Regions from separate parts of the Homo sapiens genome. Here regions 1, 2, 3, 4, 5 and 7 are each linked to region 6. Evidence: promoter capture Hi-C in 16 types of primary human blood cells and fetal thymus (Javierre and others, 2016). All regions are on one chromosome and are shown on one strand. The core of a region is centred on a gene start or on the middle of the fragment in contact, and the rest is flanking DNA. Distances in the headings are between cores, read along the strand shown.

Region 1 (2,781 bases), core at 95-2,594, 310 kb before region 6:
ATAGACTTAATCCAAGTCATGGGGTTTAATCCATAAAGATTTTCTGCCACCTGATCTAACACCTCAGCTCCAGGCACAATGGATAAGTGAGCTTGAGAAGCTTCAAAAATTTGTTTCTTTAATTTATCTTAAATTAAATGATAAATTATCTTCCCTACCCAGAAGGTGTCCTTTGACCATTTACCATGAATGATCAGTCTCTTTATAGGAACATGGGGTGATACAGAAATCTGAAGTGTTCCAATCACACTGCATTTGCATTCGATGTTTGAGACTCACTACCCAATCTCCAAGCCAAGTAACAGACTGTCTTAAATAATTAATTTGATTAGCCAATTTTTGATCAATGCCTTGTTGAGAATTCCACATTTGGGTGGAATTGGCTTGCCAATCATTAACAAAATGAGCCTTTTGAATAGACTGATGTAACACCATTCTGGCAGTGGTGGCCATTGCAGTGACACTGCAGCCACTGCTCTGCTCTGGGAAGATCTGGGCACAGGCCCGCCAGGGTGGGTTTAAATAGCCTCAGGTGCAGCCTGGCAGCAGAAAGGGCGGAGCTTCACTCCTCCTTTCATGTGTCTCCCCCAACTTTTCCAGGCTCCATCTCCTAGGAAACTGCTCTCCTGATTTGATGTCATGTGACGCATTTGGGACAATCTAAGAAATTAGAAATTTTGTTGGCCAAATATATTATTAATTAAATGCATTGAAAACTATCTAGTGCTGTGGTTCTCACGTTGTGGTTTTGAGACCAGCAGCATCCTTGCAACCCTCAAGCCCCGGAGATCCACAAATCTAGGTTCTCTCAAGCCTTCCCCCTGACCCTGATGTATGGCAGTTTAAGAATTACCCATGTAAGCAAAAAGACTTTTAAGAAAAAGTGGAGATATGCATTGTATAAACATTCTTCTGCTCTGGAACCATGTAGAGACTTTGGGGCCAGGTGGGTGGAGCATTCATAGGATGAGGGTGGTGAGGTTAGGAATATCAAGGTGTGGCTCCAGATAATTAGACCATCTAATTAAGTTTTCAGTTATGCTAATCTGTTTTAAAATTCCGTTTATGTAAATTCTATTACTCAGACCAAGAATGGCAATGCCTCAACCCCAATTTCCAGGGAGGGTTGAGAGCCTGAGGTTGAGTTGATCACCAATAGCCGATGGTTTAACCCATCATGCCTATGTAATGAAGCCTCCATAAAAACAAAAAAGGACTGGGTTTATAGGGCTTCTGGATAAAACTTCCTGGAAGGTAGTGCACCCCTCCCCCCATGCCAGGCCCCATGAATCTTTTTTTCTGAATTTTTTGCAACATCCTCTATAATAAAATGGTAAATGTAAGTGTTTCCCTGTGTGGTGTGAGCTGTTCTAGCAAATTAATTCAACTGAAACAGGGAGTGGTGGAAACCTGATTTATACCCAGTTGGTCAGAAGCACAGGTAAAACAACATAGGACTTGCCATTGTTATTACAGTGGGAGGCGAGTCTTGCAGAACTGAGCCCTGTGGAATCTAATGCTATGGCCAGGTAGATAGTGTCATCATTGAATTAGAAGACACCCAGCTGGCGTCCACAGCAGAATGGATGGTGTGCTTGACTGACCGAGAGAAATCCCCAGACATGTTGTCACAGGAATCTTCTGTGTTGATTGTTGTGATGTGAGAGCAGAGGAAAAACAGTTTTTGTTTTTTTCGCTGAGCCTAAAATGTAAAAGGGTCTATTTTCTCACACTATTTAGGATCACATGATTTATAATAAAAATGTTTAATCTTTGTCAACTTGATATATAAAAAGGATGTTGGTTTTCATTTTATTGCTAACAGTCAAGGTGGTCATAGTTGATGTGTTTTTGTCATTTTTCTTTTCACTGCCTTGTCATGTCTTTCACCCATTTTTTAGTTATTTAATTTTTAATTAAAAAAAAATTTTAGGCCGGGCGCAATGGCTCACACCTGTAATCCCAGCACTTTGGGAGGCTGAGGCGGGTGAATCACGAGATCAAGAGATCGAGACCATCCTGGCCAACATTGTGAAGCCCCGTCTCTACTGATAGTAGAAAAATTAGCCGGGTGTGGTGGTGGGCGCCTGTAGTCCCAGCTACTCAGGAGGCTGAGGCGGAAGCCACTGCACTCCAGCCTGGGTGAAAGAGCAAGACTCCATGTGAAAAGAAAAACAAACAAAAAAACCTGGCTCTTATTAATCCTTTTATTTTTTTCCATCAGGTGAACAATTATGGCATTACGTTATGTGAATTTTTCCAGGTAGGAGATATTGGCCATCCTCTTTTTTTTTTTCTTTTTTTTTTTTTTTGAGAAAGGATCTCAGCCTGTCACCCAGGCTTTAGTGCTATGGTCGGATCAGAGCCTCAAGAGATCCTCAGCCTCTTGAGTAGCTGCAACTACAGGTGTGCACCACTGCACCTGATAATTTTCTTTTATTTTTTTTGTGGAGTCGAGGTCTCACTATGTTGCCCAGGCTTGTCTCAAAATCCTGGGCTCAAGTGATTCTCCTGCCTTGGCCTACCAAAGTGATGGGATCACGGGTGTGAGCCACATCTCCCTGACTCTTCATCCTCTTATAAGCTTATTCCTTTGTATTTCCCTTGCTATTTACTCCTTGTTTCTTTCTGTTTAGGTATTCATCTTATCTATGAACTCTTTTTGTGTATTTTTTCTAGGTTTTGATCTTTTTTCCTGTTATATATATTAACAAGAAAATTACTTTCAAACTGTTGATTGACATTTATTTTCATGGTGATATGTTTTAGAAAGTAATATTT
Region 2 (2,700 bases), core at 188-2,687, 370 kb before region 6:
CTCACTTCTCAGACGGGGCGGTTGCCAGGCAGAGGGTCTCCTCACTTCTCAGATGGGGCGACCGGGCAGAGATGCTCCTCACCTCCCAGACGGGGTTGCGGCCGGGCAGAGGTGCTCCTCACTTCCTAGATGGGATGGCCGCCGGGCAGAGACGCTCCTCACTTTCCAGACTGGGCAGCCAGGCAGAGGGGCTCCTCACATCCCAGACAATGGGCAGCCAGGCAGAGACGCTCCTCACTTCCCAGACGGGGTGGCAGCTGGGCAGAGGCTGCAATCTTGGCACTTTGGGAGGCCAAGGCAGGCAGCTGGGAGGTGGAGGTTGTAGCGAGCCGAGATCACGCCACTGCACTCCAGCCTGGGCACCATTGAGCACTGAGTGAACGAGACTCCGTCTGCAATCCCAGCACCTTGGGAGGCCGAGGCTGGCGGATCACTCAGGTTAGGAGCTGGAGACCAGCCCGGCCAACACAGCGAAACCCCGTCTCCACCAAAAAAATACGAAAACCAGTCAGGCGTGGCGGCGCACGCCTGCAATCGCGGGCACTCGGCAGGCTGAGGCAGGAGAATCAGGCAGGGAGGTTGCAGTGAGCCGAGATGGCAGCAGTACAGTCCAGCTTCGGCTCGGCATCAGAGGGAGACCGTGGAAAGAGAGGGAGAGGGAGACCGTGGAAAGAGAGGGAGAGGGAGACCGTGGAAAGAGAGGGAGAGGGAGAGGGAGACCGTGGAAAGAGAGGGAGAGGGAGACCGTGGAAAGAGAAGGAGAGGGAGACCGTGGAAAGAGAGGGAGAGGGAGACCGTGGAAAGAGAAGGAGAGGGAGACCGTGGAAAGAGAGGGAGAGGGAGACCGTGGGGAGAGGGAGAGGGAGAGGGCAAGGGCGAGGGCGAGGGCGTCAAGTTTATTTTTAAAAGTAGTCTGGGCACGGTGGCTCACGCCTGTAATCCCAGCACTTTGGGAGGCCAGTGTGGGCAGATCACAAGGTCAAGAGGTCAAGACCATCCTGGCCAACATGGTGAAACCCCATCTCTACAAAAAATACAAAAATTAGCTGGGCGTGGTGATGTGCGCCTGTAGTCCCAGCTACTTAGGAGGCTGAGGCAGGAGAGTCACTTGAACCCCGGAGGTGGAGGTTGCAGTGAGTTGAGATCATGCCACTGCACTCCAGCCTGGGGACAGCGCGAGACTCTGTCTCAAAACCAAAACCAAAACAAACAAACAAACAAAAAAGTAAAAGAATAAGGAATGGCTACTCCATAAGCAGAGCAGCCCCAGGGGCTTCTGGTTGCCCATTTTTATGGTTATTTCTTGATTTTCTGCTAAACAAGGGGTGGATTATTCATGAGTTTTCCAGGACTGGGGTGGGCAATTCCCAGAACTGAGGGTTCCTCTCCTTTTTAGACCATAGAGGGTAACTTCCTGACAAAACTGTCATGGCGCTGAGACCAGCAGTTTGAGACCAGTCTGGGCAACATGACGAGACCCTGTCTTCTACAAAAAATAAAAAGGCAGTTTAACTGTTGTAGTATGTGTGGTAGTAATGCAAGCAACACAACCTCTTGGCTTTCACATTGGGCCTTCTTTACATTGCAGCAGCTCTGGCTCTTTGATACTTATTGTGAACCTCACAACCTACCCAGTAAATATACAGTGGTGTTTTTAGGTTTGGAGAATCCTTTCCTACCTTTAAATACATTAATGCTAGCCATTTTTAATAACCATTCCTACTGTAATAGTAAAATATTTTCTAGATAGATAAGGAGAAAAAATTGACACACTTATACCTTGACCTCTCCACATCAAGTGATCCTCCCATCTTTGCCTCCCAAGTAGCTGGGACTGTAGGCACATACCACCGTGCCTGGCTTATTTATTTATTTATTTATTTATTATTTTTTGAGATGGAGTCTCACTCTCTTGCCCAGGCTGGAGTGAAGTGGCATGGTCTCAGCTTGCTGCAAACTCCAACTTCCGGTTCAGGTGATTCTCATGCCTTAGCCTCCCAAGTAGCTGGGACTACAGGTATACCACACCTAGCTAATTTGTATTTTTTTGTATTTTTAGTAGAGATGGGGTTTCGCCATGTTGACCAGGCTGGTCTCGAACTCCTGAGTTCAGGCAATCTGCCCACCTCGGCCTCCCAAAGTGCTAGAATTACAGGTGTGAGCCACCATGCCCGGCCTATTTTATATATTTTGTATAGACAGGGGAGCCTCACTGTGTTGCTGAGGCTGGGCTCGAACTCCTGGGCTCAAGTGATCCTTCCACCTCAGCCTCCCAAAGCACTGTGATTACAGGTATGAACTGCTGCACCTGGCCACTTTTATTTTCTTTTAGTTTTTGATCCAATGGCTTCTAAAGAAATGAGTTATCAAAAATTAGCAGTAGTTGCTTTTCAGTGTTTGATTTGAGGAGGAGCAAAGTATCCTTGAATGGGCTATCATTTAACAGACTGAATTATTGTATCCTGTAGGAAAAAACCTGAGGACACTACAAAGGAATTGCGTTGTTTCAAGGTGATTTTTAAAGAGGGAAGCACCTTTCCTGGTTTCCAAATATTTAATTAAAATAAGTGGTTTTGAAAAACATGGATGCAGCATTAAAAGAGAGACAGTGAACCTGCTCCTCAGTTCTACCCCTTCAAAGAATAACTCCTTTTAATGCTTTTGAGAACATCTTTCCAGATTTTTCCGTGCATATTTATA
Region 3 (3,110 bases), core at 532-3,031, 290 kb before region 6:
GCCTGGGCAACAGAGCGAGACTCAGTCTCAAAAAAAAAATAAAGGAAATAAATAAATAAATAAATAAATAAATAAATAAAGCAAATGCTATAGAGAGGAAAATGACAAATTTACCATTATAGGCTTTTTTTTCTTTCACTTTTTTCTTTTTTCTTTTTTTTTGGTGACAGAGTCTTGCTCTGTCGCCCAGGCTGGAGTGCAGTGGCATGATCTCGGCTCATTGCAACCTCCACCTCCTGGGTTCAAGTGATTCTCTTGCCTCAGCCTCCCAAGTAGCTGGGACTACACGTGCTTGCCACCATGCCTGGCTAAGTTTTGTATTTTTAGTAGCGATGGGGTTTCACCACCTTGGCCAGGCTGGTCTTGAACTCCTCACCGCGTGATCTGCCCACCTCGGCCTCCCAAAGTACTGAGATTACAGGCTTGAGCCACCACGCCCAGACTGGGAACCTTTTTGACATGCACTTTTCAATCGTTGACAGATGCATAATGAAAAAATCTAAGTAAGCACAAATAAGCATGTAGGAAATTTAAATAGCACAGTTAGCAAGTCTGGGGAAAATATAAATGTATGCATATCCATCTGATAGAGAAGACACATTGTTTTCCAACAGACACAGATGTCACAAAAATTAACCTTGTATTAGGTCAAAAATAAAAATGTTCCTGAACTCGTTTTTTAAAATTCAAGTATGTCAAATTAAATCAAGTAATCCTTCAACTTAGAGCAATATATAAGAACATCAAACATGTAAACATCAAAAGACAGAGATAAGCCAAAACAATTGCACTGTCCCTTTATGTGCCCTAAGCTGCGATGTCAAGCTATAGTTGGATATTATTCAACCATTTCCTGCCCATTGCGTAGAGGTGGGGGTCTTCACTTCTCTATCTAGTCTAGGACTGGAACCGCCTCACCACCCCTACAGCTTGAGGGTGCGTGGAAAAGGGAATGCCAGCCAGATATTCCAAACAGAGACTCTGCCAGCAGGACCAGGTGACCTTTCCTAGGAGACAGATTGTTCTCACACGTTATCAGGGCTTTCCTCCAGGCTAAAACTGTGGGCCTCTAATGGAATTCCTATTCAATTTTCTTACCCCATTTAGGGTACCCAAATTTTTCTTTAATAGAAATCTTAAATCTTAAATGCAATAACATGAAGTAAAATAAAGCCTAAGTCTCAACAAGGGCAAATTTTCAAAAAGAATCTGAAAACTTCCCGCGTTTTCTTGTTATGTTGTAATGTGTCTCTTTTAGGACACTCTCAGTACTCCTGCAATTCCCCTGTTAAGGATTCAGACAATAGTTGTTAATTCCTTCTGCTTCTTCTGAGACTAGGAAATAAATTACAGGGCTATGTTATATCGCAAGTGTAGATTATCCAGAGTTTTCATCAACAGAAATAAAACATGGTGGGGGGCGGGGAGGGAATTATTTAAGTGAGTGTTAATTGAAAAGTTTCGTGGTTTTAACGTTAAAAGACATGCCTATAAAATAAGAACTTATAAAAGTCTTCACTAAAACGGTAAAGTGCCCATTTCCAAGTAGTAAAATATTGAAACTTCTTTTCATCGTTGATAGTGATTTATTTAACATTTCATTATTTTATCGTTATTATGATTGTCGTTATTTTAGACGAATGCACGGAAGTCAAAGGACTTCCAAATGCACGGAAGTCAAAGGCCACCTTCACCAGGGTAGCCTTGCGAATGGCCACTGCTGCGCGCGGGGCTTTCTGGGGATTGTAGGCCATAGGCCTCCTTGCGCATGCGCCATGGTACTGGACGCACGCTGCGGGCGACATTGTTTGGGACGCTGGGGTGAGTCCCGTCTGTACCGCGCCCCTCTTGGAGGCGTAGCCAGGAGTAGGAGTGTAGGATGTGCAGCTGTGACCCGTCCCTGTGGACTGAAGTAGGAGGAGTGGAAGAGGGGACTGGTAACCAATGATAAGGCCTCGTAGGTGGGGTAGACTAGGGAAGTTCAGCGGCCCGACCTACCCGGGATAGGATGGGAAGAGCGTGGGCTCGAGCGTGGGCTCGGTTTGGGGAGCAGCCCTGGGTTTGACAAAACAGTGCATCTTCACGTTTCGTGACAGCGACTTGCGCTGTGCCTCCTCGGGTCGAAGCTTAGGGTCAGTCTTGGGATGTGCATCTCTGGATGAGGGCAGAGGGGCGCTGGCTCAGGGTTTTGGAGTAATGGCTGGACTGTGCGTCCCTGAATGGGATGAGGGATTTGCTTAAGCAGCTAGTCTCTGGATATAGAGGATGGCTTCGGCTGTTCTCGCTCAGTTTGGTGGGGGCGATTCTGGCTCAGCACCCCTAGGTTCTTGGATGGGGAGTTGTCTTGGGTCTGAACTCTGGATTTTGGCAGCTCTGACTCCATTGGGGCATTTATGACTTCAAGGCAGAGGTTCTGGCTTTTGGCAATAAAGAAACAACTCAGACTGTAATACTGTAATAACTCCAGAGTTTAATGTCACCGAATACATTTTGAAAAGAACTGTCCCAGGCCTGGCGCGGTGCCTCACGCCTGTAATCCCAGCACTTTGGGAGGCCAAAGTGGGCGGATCACGAGGTCAGGAGATCGAGACCATCCTGGCTAACACGGTGAAACCCCGTCTCTACTACAAAAAACAATTACAAAAAATTAGCCGGGCACGGTGGCAGGCGCCTGTAGTCCCAGCTACTCGGGAGGCTGAGGCAGGAGAATGGCGTGAACCCGGGAGGCGGAGCTTGCAGTGAGCTGAGATCACGCCACTGCACTCCAGCCTGGGCGACAGAGCCAGACTCTGTCTCAAAGAAAAAAGAAAAGAAAAGAACTGCCCCAAATTATTAACTCCATTCTCACCTCACATGCTGTGAGCCAGGGAGTAGGGACTTTGAGTATTATAAAGCACATTAGCAAATATAAGTTGTTAAATTACACTCAACAAATTTGAAGTTTGAACACTCTCTGTATATTTGATAAAGTTAGAGATTTAGTGTTAATTATTTTAGGTGTAATAGCAGCATTTATTACATTTCTGATCGTGTTTCTGGGCAATTGCAGTTCCAGATTCAGCTGCACTTTTCCTCTAGGTCTTCATTCCCTGAAGAAGTTGATATGGGCA
Region 4 (2,973 bases), core at 1-2,500, 400 kb before region 6:
AGGACTGCAGGCACGAGCCATCACACCCAGCTAATTTTTGTATTTTTTGGTAGAGACGGGATTTCACCATGTTGGCCAGGCTGGTCTTGAATTCCTGACCTCAATTGATCTGCCCGCCTTGGCCTCCCAAAGTGCTGAGATTACAGGAATGAGCCACCCTGCCTGGCTCATTCCATGCCTTTTCATTCCATTCCACTCAGCTTTGTTTGATCCCTTTACACTCCTTTCCATCTCTTTCTTATTTCATTCCTTTTCATTCTTTTCCTTTCTTTCTATTGCATTTTATCCATTTTTATTTTTTCTTTTAATTCCTTTCAATTCATTTATTTTACATTCCATTACACTCTGTTTTATTCCAGCCCACTCAATTCCCATCCCACGACTTTATTTCGTTTCCATTCTTATTCTTCCCATCCCATTTCAGTCTTCTTATTTCCATCCATATATTTAATCCATTTCATCCGTTCTATTTCCTACCTCTCCATTCCTTCCTAGGCAATGTCCCTATTTACATTCATTTCCATTTGATTGGTTTTCACTTCATTCCACTACATTCCAGTTCTTATTCTTTATATTTCTTTTCCATTCAATTTTTCTTTTTTCCCATTCCCTTCTTTCTTTTCCATTCACTTTCTCTTCTCCATACCCTTCCCTTTCATTCAATTCTATTTCACTGTTTTCCATTCCTCTCCCTCTGTTCTCTTCAATTCCTTTCCCTTTTCATTTCTTTCCAATCCACCCCACTCTATTCTATTCCATTCCATTCTACTGCATGTTTTCTCACTTCATCCTCTCCCTTCATGCCCTTTATGGCACTTCATTCCCTTGTCTTTATTACTTTCCTTTTCAAGCTTTCCATTTAATTTCTTCTTTTCAAGTCATTCCATTCCACTCCTTTTCATTTCATTTAAGTTCTTTCCATTTCTTTCCAGTCCTTTGCATTTCCTACTCTTTATACCATTGATTTCAGTTTCATTTCATTTCATTATTTTATATTCCATGGCATTCCATTTCCCCCCTTTTCTGTTTTTTTTTTAATTTCGTTGCTTTATTTTTATTCTTTAATGTTATACTTTCCTTCTACTATATTACTTTTCTCTAATTTCCTCTCCACTTCTCTCCCCTCATTACCTTATTTTATTACTCTCTTTTCTGCTCCATTTTATTTTACTTTATTTCTTTCTTTCTGTTACAATTTTCCTTTTCATTTAATTTCTTTCATTTGCACTTCTTTGGACATCATGCCATTTTATTTCACTCCATTCTCTGCCTTTAATTTTTATTGTATTCCTTTCTGTCCTATTCAATTTCCCTCCATTTCATTTATGCCTTTGCCATCTCTTTCAGTTACATTCCTAAATAGTCTATTCCTTTTCATTCATTTCCTTTCCTTTCCAATCTTTCATTTCATTCATGATATTTACTTCCCCACATTTTTCTCATGGGAGATTTGAAGCAGTTTTTCCCATGGAAGATTTGAAGCAGTTTATATACAACACTACAAAATGGTGTTAAATTAGAAATAGAAATTACAATCAGAAAAAATATTTTTAACAATAGCAAGAAGTCAATATATGGGTAAAAAGTAAAAATATATACTGGGCCTACGTGATATCTGCCACTATATCTCTTATGTGTCTCTAAGCTTCCTGGTAACAATAAAACAGAGAGGTATGATTAGTTACATCATTCAAAAAGAAGAAAACTGGGCCAGGCGCGGTGGCTCACGCCTGTAATCCCAGCACTTTGGGAGGTGGAGGCGAGCAGATCACTTGAGGTCAGGAGTTAGAGACCAGCCTGGCCATCATGGTGAAACGCTGTCTCTACTGAAAATACAAAAATTAGCTGGGCATGGTGGCAGGCACCTGTAATCCCAGCTACTTGGGAGGCTGAGGCAGAAGAATCACTTGAACCTGGGAGGCGGAGGTTGCAGTGAGCTGAGGTCGAGCTACTGCACTCCAGCCTGGGCAACAGAACAAGACCTTGTCTCAGAAAGAAAAAAATAAAAAAGAAGAAAACTATTAGTTCATCCAGGCATAAGCAAAATTCCAGTAACAAGTTTAGAGCAGTCAAGTGATGGCTCCATAGTTCTAAGGACTAGTAGAATTATTTTAGAGAATGCAAGTGATCTCAACCCTGTCATCAGGACAGCCAGATTACTCCAATTCCAAGAATGGACTTCAGATTCTATATTCTGAACAAGCCAGTGACCAGTCAGAATTTATCCAGAGGAGGAATAAGAGAGAGGCCAGAACAGGGGCTCAAATCCATGTCCTACTGACAGGGTTTTCTTGGGTTTGGAAAAGAGAAAGTTTAGGGACAGAGAACTCCAATATTTTAGTGTCTGACAGGCTTCAAGTAGAGGGATAAATGTGTTCCTTGTTGTTCCAGAGGGCACATAAATTACCATGGAGGATAGGTAAAAGAAGGGTAGATTTTAGCCTAACAGACAGATAACTATTCTTGAAAAATGTGAATATCCTATACACCTTTTTAGTTTTTTGAGACAACGTATTGCTCTTTCACCCAGGTTGTGTGCAGTAGTGCGATCATGGCCAACTGCAGCCTCAGATTCCTGGGCTCAAGCGATCATCCCACCTTGGCCTCCCAGAGTATTGGGATTACAGACGCAAGCCACTGCACCTGGCTGAATGTTTCATATATTAATATCTTAGTCAAGAATTTTTAATGTTAAGAAAGTTAAACCCTTTGAATGTAGTTCGAATGGGGATTAATTGAGAGAACACTGAGAAATATCAGATAACTCAATTTCAGAAATTACTCCTGGGCCTCTTGGCGACTTGAATGCTATCAAGAAGCTGTTTCTCTCTTATTATACAGTTTCTCATTTTCACTAATCTATGAATTCATCTCATTCTTCTCAATCCAGATTGAATTTCTATGTAAATGTCCTGGTCATTGCTTCTCTATAACTTCAGAGTATATATAACAACATCTTCTGCTGCCCTTTAA
Region 5 (2,754 bases), core at 37-2,536, 300 kb after region 6:
TGATTGTTTTCGTCTGTTTTCATGCTGCTGATAAAGACATACCCAAGACTGGGTAACTGATAAAGAAAAACAGGTTTAATGGACTCATAGTTACACATGCCTGGGGAGGCCTCACAATCATAGCAGAAGAGCAAAAGAGAACAAAGAGACATCTTACATGGCAGCCAGCAAAGAGAATGAGAGCCAAGCAAAAAGGGTTTCCCCTTATAAAACCATCAGCTCTGATAATACTTATTCACTATCATGAGAACGGTATGGGGGAAACCACCCCCATGATTCAGTTATCTCTCACCGGGTTCCTCCCACAACATGTGGGAATTATGGGAGCTACAATTCAAGATGAGATTTGGGTGGGGACACAGCCAAACCGTATCACTTATTATGTGGCCAAAGCTAATTCATAGTGACTACTTTAAATGTAAACAAATAGCAGCTCCAATTTCAGCTGCTATGTCAGATGTGACATCTTTACTGGAGTTGACCAACCTAGTTTTTGGTCCTTAGTATGTGCTTAATGATCTGACAAATGTATTTTACTTGATCTCTGACATTTAGGAGAATTAAAAGCCATTCATGTGTGCATGGTAAGGACTGCAGCACTGTCTTGCCCCAGGTTCCTGATAACCCTCCTAATCTCCGTCATATTGTAGTCCACAGAGGCCTTGATCATCTTTACATTCTGAAGAACATAGCACTGGTTCATTCCACCAATAAAATCATGCTAATTTGACCTGGTGATCAGGAAGTGGCAATCACTGTAGAAGCCATAGTAATGCAAATGAGTGACAGAAAGAGGGAGATAAACCTCATGAATGTTCACTAACTTACCACATCAGTGAAGATTTTAGAAGTCCAATCATCTGGGACATGCCATAGTATCTCCCTTAAGGTAAAGAATAAGTTATTACAACTCACACTTCCTAAACTGATAAACAGGCACATAATTTGGTAGGGCTCTTTGACATTTGAAAGTGATAGATACATGATAGGTAGATAGATAGATAGATAGATAGATAGATAGATAGATAGATAGATAGAGTGGGGCGTGGTGGCTCACACCTGGAATCCCAGCAGTTTGGGAGGCCAAGGCGGGTGAATCGCTTGAGGTTAGGAGTTCGAGACCAGCCTGGCCAACATGGTGAAACTCCATCTCTACTAAAAATACAAAAATTAGGCATGGTGGTGCACACCTGTAGTCCCAGCTACTCAGGAGGCTGAGGCAGGGGAATCGCTTGAAGTCGGGAAGCAGAGGTTGCAGTGAGCTGAGATCGCGCCACTGCACTCCAGCCAGGGTGACAAAGTGAAACTCCGTCTCAAAAATAAAATAAAATAAAATAAAAATAATAGATGGGTATATATAGATGTGTGTTTATATATAACATATATGATTTATATGATACATATATAAATCACACTTCAGAATAGTGTTCTTTTTTTCTCTTTTTTTAATAGTTCTAGGTGTCTTTTATAGCTGGTTTTTGGTTTTGTTTTTGTTTTAGACAGAGTCTTGCTCTATTGCCCAGGCTGGAGTGCAGTGGCATGATCACAGCTCACTGCAGCCTTGACCTCCCTGGCTCAAGTAGATCCTCCCACCTCAGCCTCCCGAGTAACTGGGACTACAGGCACATGCCACCGTGCACAGCTAGTTTTTAAATTTTTTGTGGAGACGGGGTCTCCGTGTGTTGCCCATGCTGGTCTCAAACTCCTTTTTCTTTCTTTCTTTTTTTTTTTAGAAATAGGTTCTCACTATATTGCCCAGGCTGGCCTCAAACTCCTGGCCTCAAACAATCCCCCCACTTTCGGCCTCCCAAAGTGCTGAGATTACAGGCGTGACCCATCATGACTGGCCTGGAATTTTGTTCTGACTCATTTTTCAGATAAACTTGAAGGCTGCTGAGTTTCAAAGCAGGTGAGAGCTCTACAGCAGGTAAAGCCTGCGATGCAATCTCCCTGTCCCTGAGCCACATGAATCAGCAACTTTGATGGTGTCACCTCTATCCATAATGGTTGAAGCTGTTATGTGGAGTCTCTGGCAAGATACAAAAGCAAAATTACAGCCCGTAAGGTTCTGAAGTAAGTCCATTTATTATGCAGCATATAAGTGCTTTCAATTTGAAAACCAGCTGCTGAGTACTAATAGAGTCTGTGATTTTGACCATGGGACATCAAGTATCTATATGACTAAAACTACCTGTCATGAGTTGGGTATCTAACCCACTAAGTCATAGTGCGATTTGGGCACAGTATTAATTCATTGTAAGAGATCTAGATGGCACAAAAGAGTTACACACACAGACAGCTCAGACTCTCATGTCACTGACCTTGGTTGCAGCTATGTTGTTCCTTTAATTCACATTCATGACATCATATGAAGATTTTCCTGTAGAATATTAAGGAAGAAAAGGTCTGGCTCACAGATGGATCAGTGTGACTGATGTATTTTGGAAGCTGAACCTAAATTATCATATTACGGGACCACTACTCAGAGGTGGGTCCTACAGGCAGTGGTGAAGGTAAATCCTGGTGTACAGAGCTGTGATTGGAGATCTTCACTTCATTTGTTTGTTTGTTTGTTTTAGAGACAGGTCTTTCTCTGTTACCCAGGCTGGAGTGCAGTGGCAGGATCATAGCACACTGCAGCCTCAATCTCTTGGGTTCAAGTGATTTTTTCATTTCAGCCTCCCCAGTAGCTAGGACTACAGGTGTGCACCACTACACCTGCTAATTTGTTTTGAATGTTTTGTAGAGATGGGG
Region 6 (2,769 bases), core at 89-2,588:
GAGTCTGAGACCAGCCTGGCCAACATGGTGAAATCCCTTCTCTACTAAAAATACAAAAATTAGCCGGATGTGGTGGCAGGCACCTGTAATCCCAGCTACTTGGGAGGCTGAGGCAGGAGAATAGCTTGAACCCAGGAGGTGGATGTTGCAATGAGCTGAGATCGTGCCATGCACTACAGCCTGGGCGACAAGAGCGAAACTCCGTCTCAAGAAAAAAAAAGAGAGAGAGAGATTTACCACTTCTGTGGTATTCCAGCAAAAAATGCATATTTTGAAGTTAAACGTGAAATACATCAGAAAAACTCCAAATGAACATCTTTGACCAAAATAACTTCATCTATACTCTTCAAAAATAACAAGGATAAAATACCAAGAAAAAACGATGAAAGCTATGCTATCTTTCAAGATTAAAGACTAGAAAAACATGACAACTGAAAGCAACACCCATGCCCGAAGACACATCCTATACACTCTCGGTTGGGGTGAGCATCTCTGTCAAAGAAAAAAGCCAAGGATCACTCACGTAGAGCTTTGCCCTCAGAAGCCAAGAAGTCCCTCCCTGCAGCTCTTTTGGAAAGGTCGGGCTGGGTAAGGAGAAGGCTGTGAAACACTCTGACCGTGGTCGCCGTGCCCCATAAAAGTTAAATGCTCCTCTCCCCTCCTGGAAGTGGATGCAACCCTCGCCTTCCTAAAAGAGAGGTCAGAAGGCGTCCGGGATCACCCAGCGTCTTGCAGGAATCAGGGAGAAGGGCCGGTGCCCCTGCAGCTGGAGTTTCACCCCACCCGGGGACCTGACAGGCTTCGTGGGAAATTAACAAGAGACCACCAGTCACCAAGTGACAGGGGCTGCTTTAAGGCTCTCATTTGTGTTACCGCTTTCAGTTCCCAAAACGATTCTATTAGGATGGTCCTAAACTCCCCATCTTAAAGAACTGTAACGGGAGACCCAAGGAGATTAAGTAACATCCCAGCGTTTTATCGCGAGGAAGTGGCCACGCGCGTGGGGTGCAGGGAGGCCGAGTGGGCGAGCTCAGAGCCCCGGAGACCCTAAAACCAGGCGAGACGCGACCCGACCAAGTCCCAAACACCCCGGGGACGCGAGGAGAGCCCCAAGCCCAAGAAGGCTCCACTGACGAGAACGAAAACAGCGGCCCCGCTCCGCCAAACCTCTGCTCTCCGACGAGGTTTCTTTTCCCCTAATTCGATCACCAGTTCGTTAAGGATCCAATGCGTAGGTCCAGGAAATTCAGAAGGGTCTCGCGGAACTGACCCAAACTACCAGGGACAAAACTGCAGCAACCTCACAGTAACGGAGCGGAAGTGGCCCGCTACTCCACTGAGTGTCTGGACTCCACTTCCCAGAATTCCTGAGACAAACTGACCGCGACGACCCCGAGCGTCTGGACTACACTTCCCAGAATTCCCTGGGATCCACCTGCCGGAGTCAAATTGACCGAGACTCCACTGAGCGTCTGGACTACATTTCCCAGAAATCCCCTGATTCGCCTGCCGGAGCCAAGCTGACCGCTACTCCACTGAGCGTCTGGACTACCATTCCCAGAATTGCTTGTATCCTCCTTCTGGAGCCAGTGTGTACGACTCCACAGAGCATTTGGATTACACTCCTCCGAATGCTGAAGGAAAAACGCTCAAAATCTCATTCTTCAGGGGGAAGCGTTGCCACTCCGAGGTGCCCACTGGGAACGAATCCCAAAGCCACGAGCGCCTGCCTAGTGGGGAATGTGAACTGTTATCCTGAGAGTCGTCCTTCTCTCTCCCTGGTCCAGGACAGAAAATACTGAATAGACAGGAATTTCTGAAGTCTAAACGCCTCCAATGATAACAGGAGTGTTATTGGAAAGGGAACAAGCGAGAAGACACAGTCTTCGAGGAGTTAAGTTTTGCTAATCTAATGGTAAGAAATGGTTTCTAAATGTAGTTTTAATTTGTATTTGTTCTTTTGTAAATAAAGTGGAACATCCGTGCATATTTTCCGTTGCCACTATTATAGTCTTTGTGAATTGGTCAAATAGTTTGCCCACATTTCTATTGAGTGTTTAGTTTTTTCCCCTCCGTTAAGTATTATTTACATACTCATATTAACATTGTATCAAATATTGCTCAACCAAAAAGCTTTTTTCCTTTGACTTGTTTTTCGCTATGCAAAACGTTTTTAACGTGGTCGTTTTATTATTTAAAAAATATTTTTGAGGTGTAATTCACAAAACAAAATTATTTTAAGGCACATAATTCAATGGCAATGGCATCTAGTACGAATACAGTGTTGTTAATATATACGAGTTAAGAAGCCATCACTTAGGCAGATAGGGTATGGGAGCCCTCGGTAAGGCTTTTCTTTTTAATGAAAAGCAGCCCCAAATTATTTCCCTTCCTAAGGAAGAGCAGCCTGTAAAATCCAGCTGCCGCAGACATAGATACCAGCAGTTGTGCCAATCATGTTAAAGATGGCGGCTCCATCTTCCCTTCTCTTTGTCAGCCACGTGCACAGTAAGAAGCTGGCAAGATGGGCCAATCAACTGGGAAGCCTATTTGCATAAGAAGATTAGGGTGGGGCGACCAGCCTTCCCCACGCACTATGTAAACGTCATAACTGATCGAACCAATCTATGACCCCTATGTAAATCAGACACTGCCTCCTCAAACTGGTCTGTAAAACTCAGCACATTCACTGCCAGCCGACCCTTTTCCGCTCGGAGACCCCTTCCTCTATGGAGGAACCCGTTTCTCTTTCTCTTCTTCCTATTAAAC
Region 7 (2,808 bases), core at 94-2,593, 360 kb after region 6:
AGCTCAGCCGCTATTTATATGAACTCAACACATGCTCTTAACTCCAATGCTTTATTATAACAGCAGCTCCAGAAGGAAACCGGGAACCAGTGCTTTAGGAAAGGAAAATGGGAACCAGAGGTGGAAACTTACTTTTATTGTATACAGCCAGAGAGGTTTGAATTGTGTATGTACATGTAATACCTGTTCAAATATAATTTTAAAAAACTTTTTTTTAGACCAGCCACGGTGGCTCACGCCTGTCATCCTAGCACTTTAGGAGGCCGAGGCGGGCGGATCACTTGAGGTCAGGAGTTCGAGACCAGCCTGGCCAACATGGCAAAACCCAGTCTCTACTAAAAATACAAAAAATTAGCCAGGCGTGGTGGACGCCTGTAATCCCAGCTATTTGGGAGGCTGAGGCAGGAGAATCGCTTGAATTTCAGGAGGTGGAGACGGCAGTGATCCGAGATCTCGCCACTGCACGCCAGCCTGGGTGACAGGGCGAGACTCCGTCTCTAAATAAATAAATAAAATAAAAATAAATAAAATTTCAAATAAAAAGCTAGAACCTTCCCATCCACCCACTCTGCCCACTGGGGAACTGCCGACCCTTCCGAATGCGCATGCGCTCTCCAGGCCGCGCCCGTCGCCCAATGTTCCTCTTTGGCGCGCGCAAGACTCCGCCCACGTGTGTTTAAATTTTCGACCCTGGAGCGGATTCCCTTCTCCAACGCGGCCTTCGAGGGTTTTAAACATAGTTCTGTCTCAGACTATTCTGCATCTCCCAGGCCTTAAGGATAAAACTGACACTGGAGACCCTTCAGGGTCTGACCTGCCCATTCTGCTGCCTCACCTCCCACCCAGGTGGACCCTGAATCCAAGCCAGTCTAGACCTCTTCCCCCGGGGTCTTCGCCGCCTTTGCTTAGCTGTTCCCTGGAGTACCCTCGCCTGCCTGTCCTTCAAGGTCCAACCGGACCCGCGCCCTTTCCTAAGTGATTTGAGGCCCTGGCAGTCTCTCCACAGGCCGGGGTGTCTTCCAGGGCGCACGCCAAGTCTGATTCATTCATGTGTTCTTGGCACTCAGCCCAGAACAGTGAAATTCCTCCCTGTCGTCCCACCCCACTGCATCCCGCCAACATCACCGAAGAGGCACAACTCGAACCCCAGATCCGGGCCGCTCTCCCTCCTGCCGGCTCCTCGGCGTATCCATTTCCCTACTCATCTCCCCACCCTCAACCCCCCAACCGCGCGCACGCGCATTGAGTCAGAGCCGCGGCGTCCTCCCGCCTCCCGCTCCGGAACCCGCATGCGTGCTGAAGCCGACCGCCTCCATCCACGCACGCTCAGCCCGGCGAGCGCATTCAGTTCTCGAGCTCCAGCCCTCAGCGCATGCGCAGGACGAGTCGCCTGAGGGAACTGATCTCAGCTCGGGCCCGCGTTACATCCTCCTCCTCTTCTTCCTTCGGCCCAGCTTTCCTTAGGGGCTGCAACCCGGACGCCGAGGCCGGTTTCGGAGTGGGGAGTGCCCATTTTCTCTCCTTCCCACGTTCCTGGCCCCCAGACGCCATTTGCAGGCGGGTGGCTTGGGTCAGCCTCCCCGCCCCCACCCGACTCCCGTCACGGGAGAGCGCACACCGCGCCCCGAGAACCAATCAGCAGCCGCGTTAGGTAAGGGGGCCGCGAGCCCGCGCGAGGCTAGCGCACCGGCGGCGGGCGGGGCGCTCCGGCAGGCCCCGCCCCCGCCTTGGCCATTGAAAGGTCGCTGGGACGTCCGGCGGGGGTGCGGCACTGAGTAGGGGGCCGGCGACCGTCAATTCGATACTGGGTTGGCAGGAATGGGGGCGGGGGACGGAAATAACGTGTAAATGAGAAACTTATGCTCTGCGAGATCCAAGTACAGCCTGCAAACTGCCCGTCAAGTACTGGGGAGGCCGCCCCAATAACGTGTAACGAGAAACTTGAGTTGGGTTCCCCGAGGGAAGCTTTGTAAAGCAATGCCTAAATCCGGGGGAGGCTCCCTTCTAGAACCCCGTAGAGAGAAGTTTAAATCCTAGGGAGTCCTTAGGAAAATGTGCAAATCGACTACAGTTCTGGGCTGGGGAGTGCCCCACGAAGTGGGCTTACATACTCAGGAATCGGGAGAGTCTCCCCAAATATTTGCAAATAGTGAGGTTCTGGGAGATCCCCGAAGGGAGTGTGTGAAGCGATGCCTAAATACTGAGGAGACACTCCCCAAAAATATGTAAATTCGATTTGTTAATTTTCGGGAAGTCACCCTAGAAGTCCATCAGCAGACACTTAAATAGACCAGCTTTCCTAAGTTTGGGGGTAATCCCCAAAGGAGCCCGGAAACAGCATTGGAAGTCCCCAGCTTGCATGTGGGTGGGGTTTTTTTTTTTTTTCTTTGAGACAAGAGTCTCGCTCTGTCGCCCAGGCTGGAGTGCAGTGGCACGATCTCGGCTCACTGTATCCTCCACACCTGGTTTAGGTGGGCTTTTAAGTTCCAAGGAACTCCCCACATTCAGATACTGTGGAAGCTCCCAGAATAAAGGGCACAGGGAGGCCAGGTGCGGTGGCTTACCCGGGGAATCCGATCACTTTGGGAGACCGAGGCTGGCGAATCACTTGAGGCCAGGAGTTCGATACCAGCCTGGCCAACATGGCGAAACCCCGTCTCTACTGAAAATGCAAAACTTAGCCCGGCCTGGTGGTATGCACCTGTAATCCCACCTACTTGGGAGGCTGAGGCAGGAGAATTGCCTGAACCCGGGAGGCAGAGGCCGCAGCCAGCTGAGATCGTGCCACTGCACTCCAGCCTGGGCAAC

Evidence for each region. Contacts are between HindIII fragments. The CHiCAGO score rates a contact against its expected background, and 5 or more counts as called.
Region 1: a contact is called between a fragment that was not itself captured here and the fragment with the promoter of ZNF225 in region 6, in 1 of 17 cell types (erythroblasts). The highest score is 6.2, in erythroblasts.
Region 2: a fragment that was not itself captured here is called in contact with the fragment with the promoter of ZNF225 in region 6 in 15 of 17 cell types (naive B cells, naive CD8 T cells, total CD4 T cells and 12 more); the score reaches 13.1 in naive B cells.
Region 3: a contact is called between the fragment with the promoter of ZNF285 here and the fragment with the promoter of ZNF225 in region 6, in 14 of 17 cell types (total B cells, naive B cells, naive CD8 T cells and 11 more). The highest score is 21.0, in total B cells.
Region 4: a contact is called between a fragment that was not itself captured here and the fragment with the promoter of ZNF225 in region 6, in 10 of 17 cell types (erythroblasts, fetal thymus, monocytes and 7 more). The highest score is 14.0, in erythroblasts.
Region 5: a contact is called between a fragment that was not itself captured here and the fragment with the promoter of ZNF225 in region 6, in 2 of 17 cell types (erythroblasts and M2 macrophages). The highest score is 7.3, in erythroblasts.
Region 7: a contact is called between the fragment with the promoter of SMG9 here and the fragment with the promoter of ZNF225 in region 6, in 1 of 17 cell types (total CD8 T cells). The highest score is 5.2, in total CD8 T cells.

The regions. Positions count from the first base shown.
Region 1 is chr19:44,416,990-44,419,770 of GRCh38, reverse strand. No RefSeq gene overlaps it. Among named protein-coding and RNA genes, the nearest start is that of ZNF285, 17 kb to the right of the region's middle. The HindIII fragment of the contact is 2,484 bases long and covers 103-2,586 here.
Region 2 is chr19:44,486,236-44,488,935 of GRCh38, reverse strand. The region is part of intron 2 of ZNF180 (zinc finger protein 180); the gene reads left to right. Among named protein-coding and RNA genes, the nearest start is that of ZNF180, 13 kb to the left of the region's middle. The HindIII fragment of the contact is 7,682 bases long and covers 1-2,700 here.
Region 3 is chr19:44,400,279-44,403,388 of GRCh38, reverse strand. ZNF285 (zinc finger protein 285) reads left to right here and starts at 1,781. Exons shown (of 4, transcript NM_152354.6): 1 at 1,781-1,821. RefSeq lists an enhancer at 1,628-2,384. The HindIII fragment of the contact is 3,728 bases long and covers 1-2,128 here.
Region 4 is chr19:44,507,425-44,510,397 of GRCh38, reverse strand. All of the region lies in intron 11 of CEACAM20 (CEA cell adhesion molecule 20), which reads left to right. Among named protein-coding and RNA genes, the nearest start is that of ZNF180, 8.4 kb to the right of the region's middle. The HindIII fragment of the contact is 794 bases long and covers 854-1,647 here.
Region 5 is chr19:43,814,317-43,817,070 of GRCh38, reverse strand. It overlaps a transcript of LYPD5 not described here. Among named protein-coding and RNA genes, the nearest start is that of ZNF283, 12 kb to the left of the region's middle. The HindIII fragment of the contact is 4,808 bases long and covers 1-2,754 here.
Region 6 is chr19:44,111,968-44,114,736 of GRCh38, reverse strand. ZNF225 (zinc finger protein 225) reads right to left here and starts at 1,338. Exons shown (of 5, transcript NM_013362.4): 1 at 1,168-1,338. It overlaps ZNF225-AS1 (ZNF225 and ZNF224 antisense RNA 1), which reads left to right and starts at 1,554. Exons shown (of 2, transcript NR_033341.1): 1 at 1,554-1,915. RefSeq lists an enhancer at 885-1,584 and a silencer at 1,277-1,627. The HindIII fragment of the contact is 4,811 bases long and covers 1-2,135 here.
Region 7 is chr19:43,753,497-43,756,304 of GRCh38, reverse strand. SMG9 (SMG9 nonsense mediated mRNA decay factor) reads left to right here and starts at 1,343. Exons shown (of 14, transcript NM_019108.4): 1 at 1,343-1,651. RefSeq lists a silencer at 1,563-1,922 and an enhancer at 2,153-2,412. The HindIII fragment of the contact is 6,293 bases long and covers 1-1,967 here.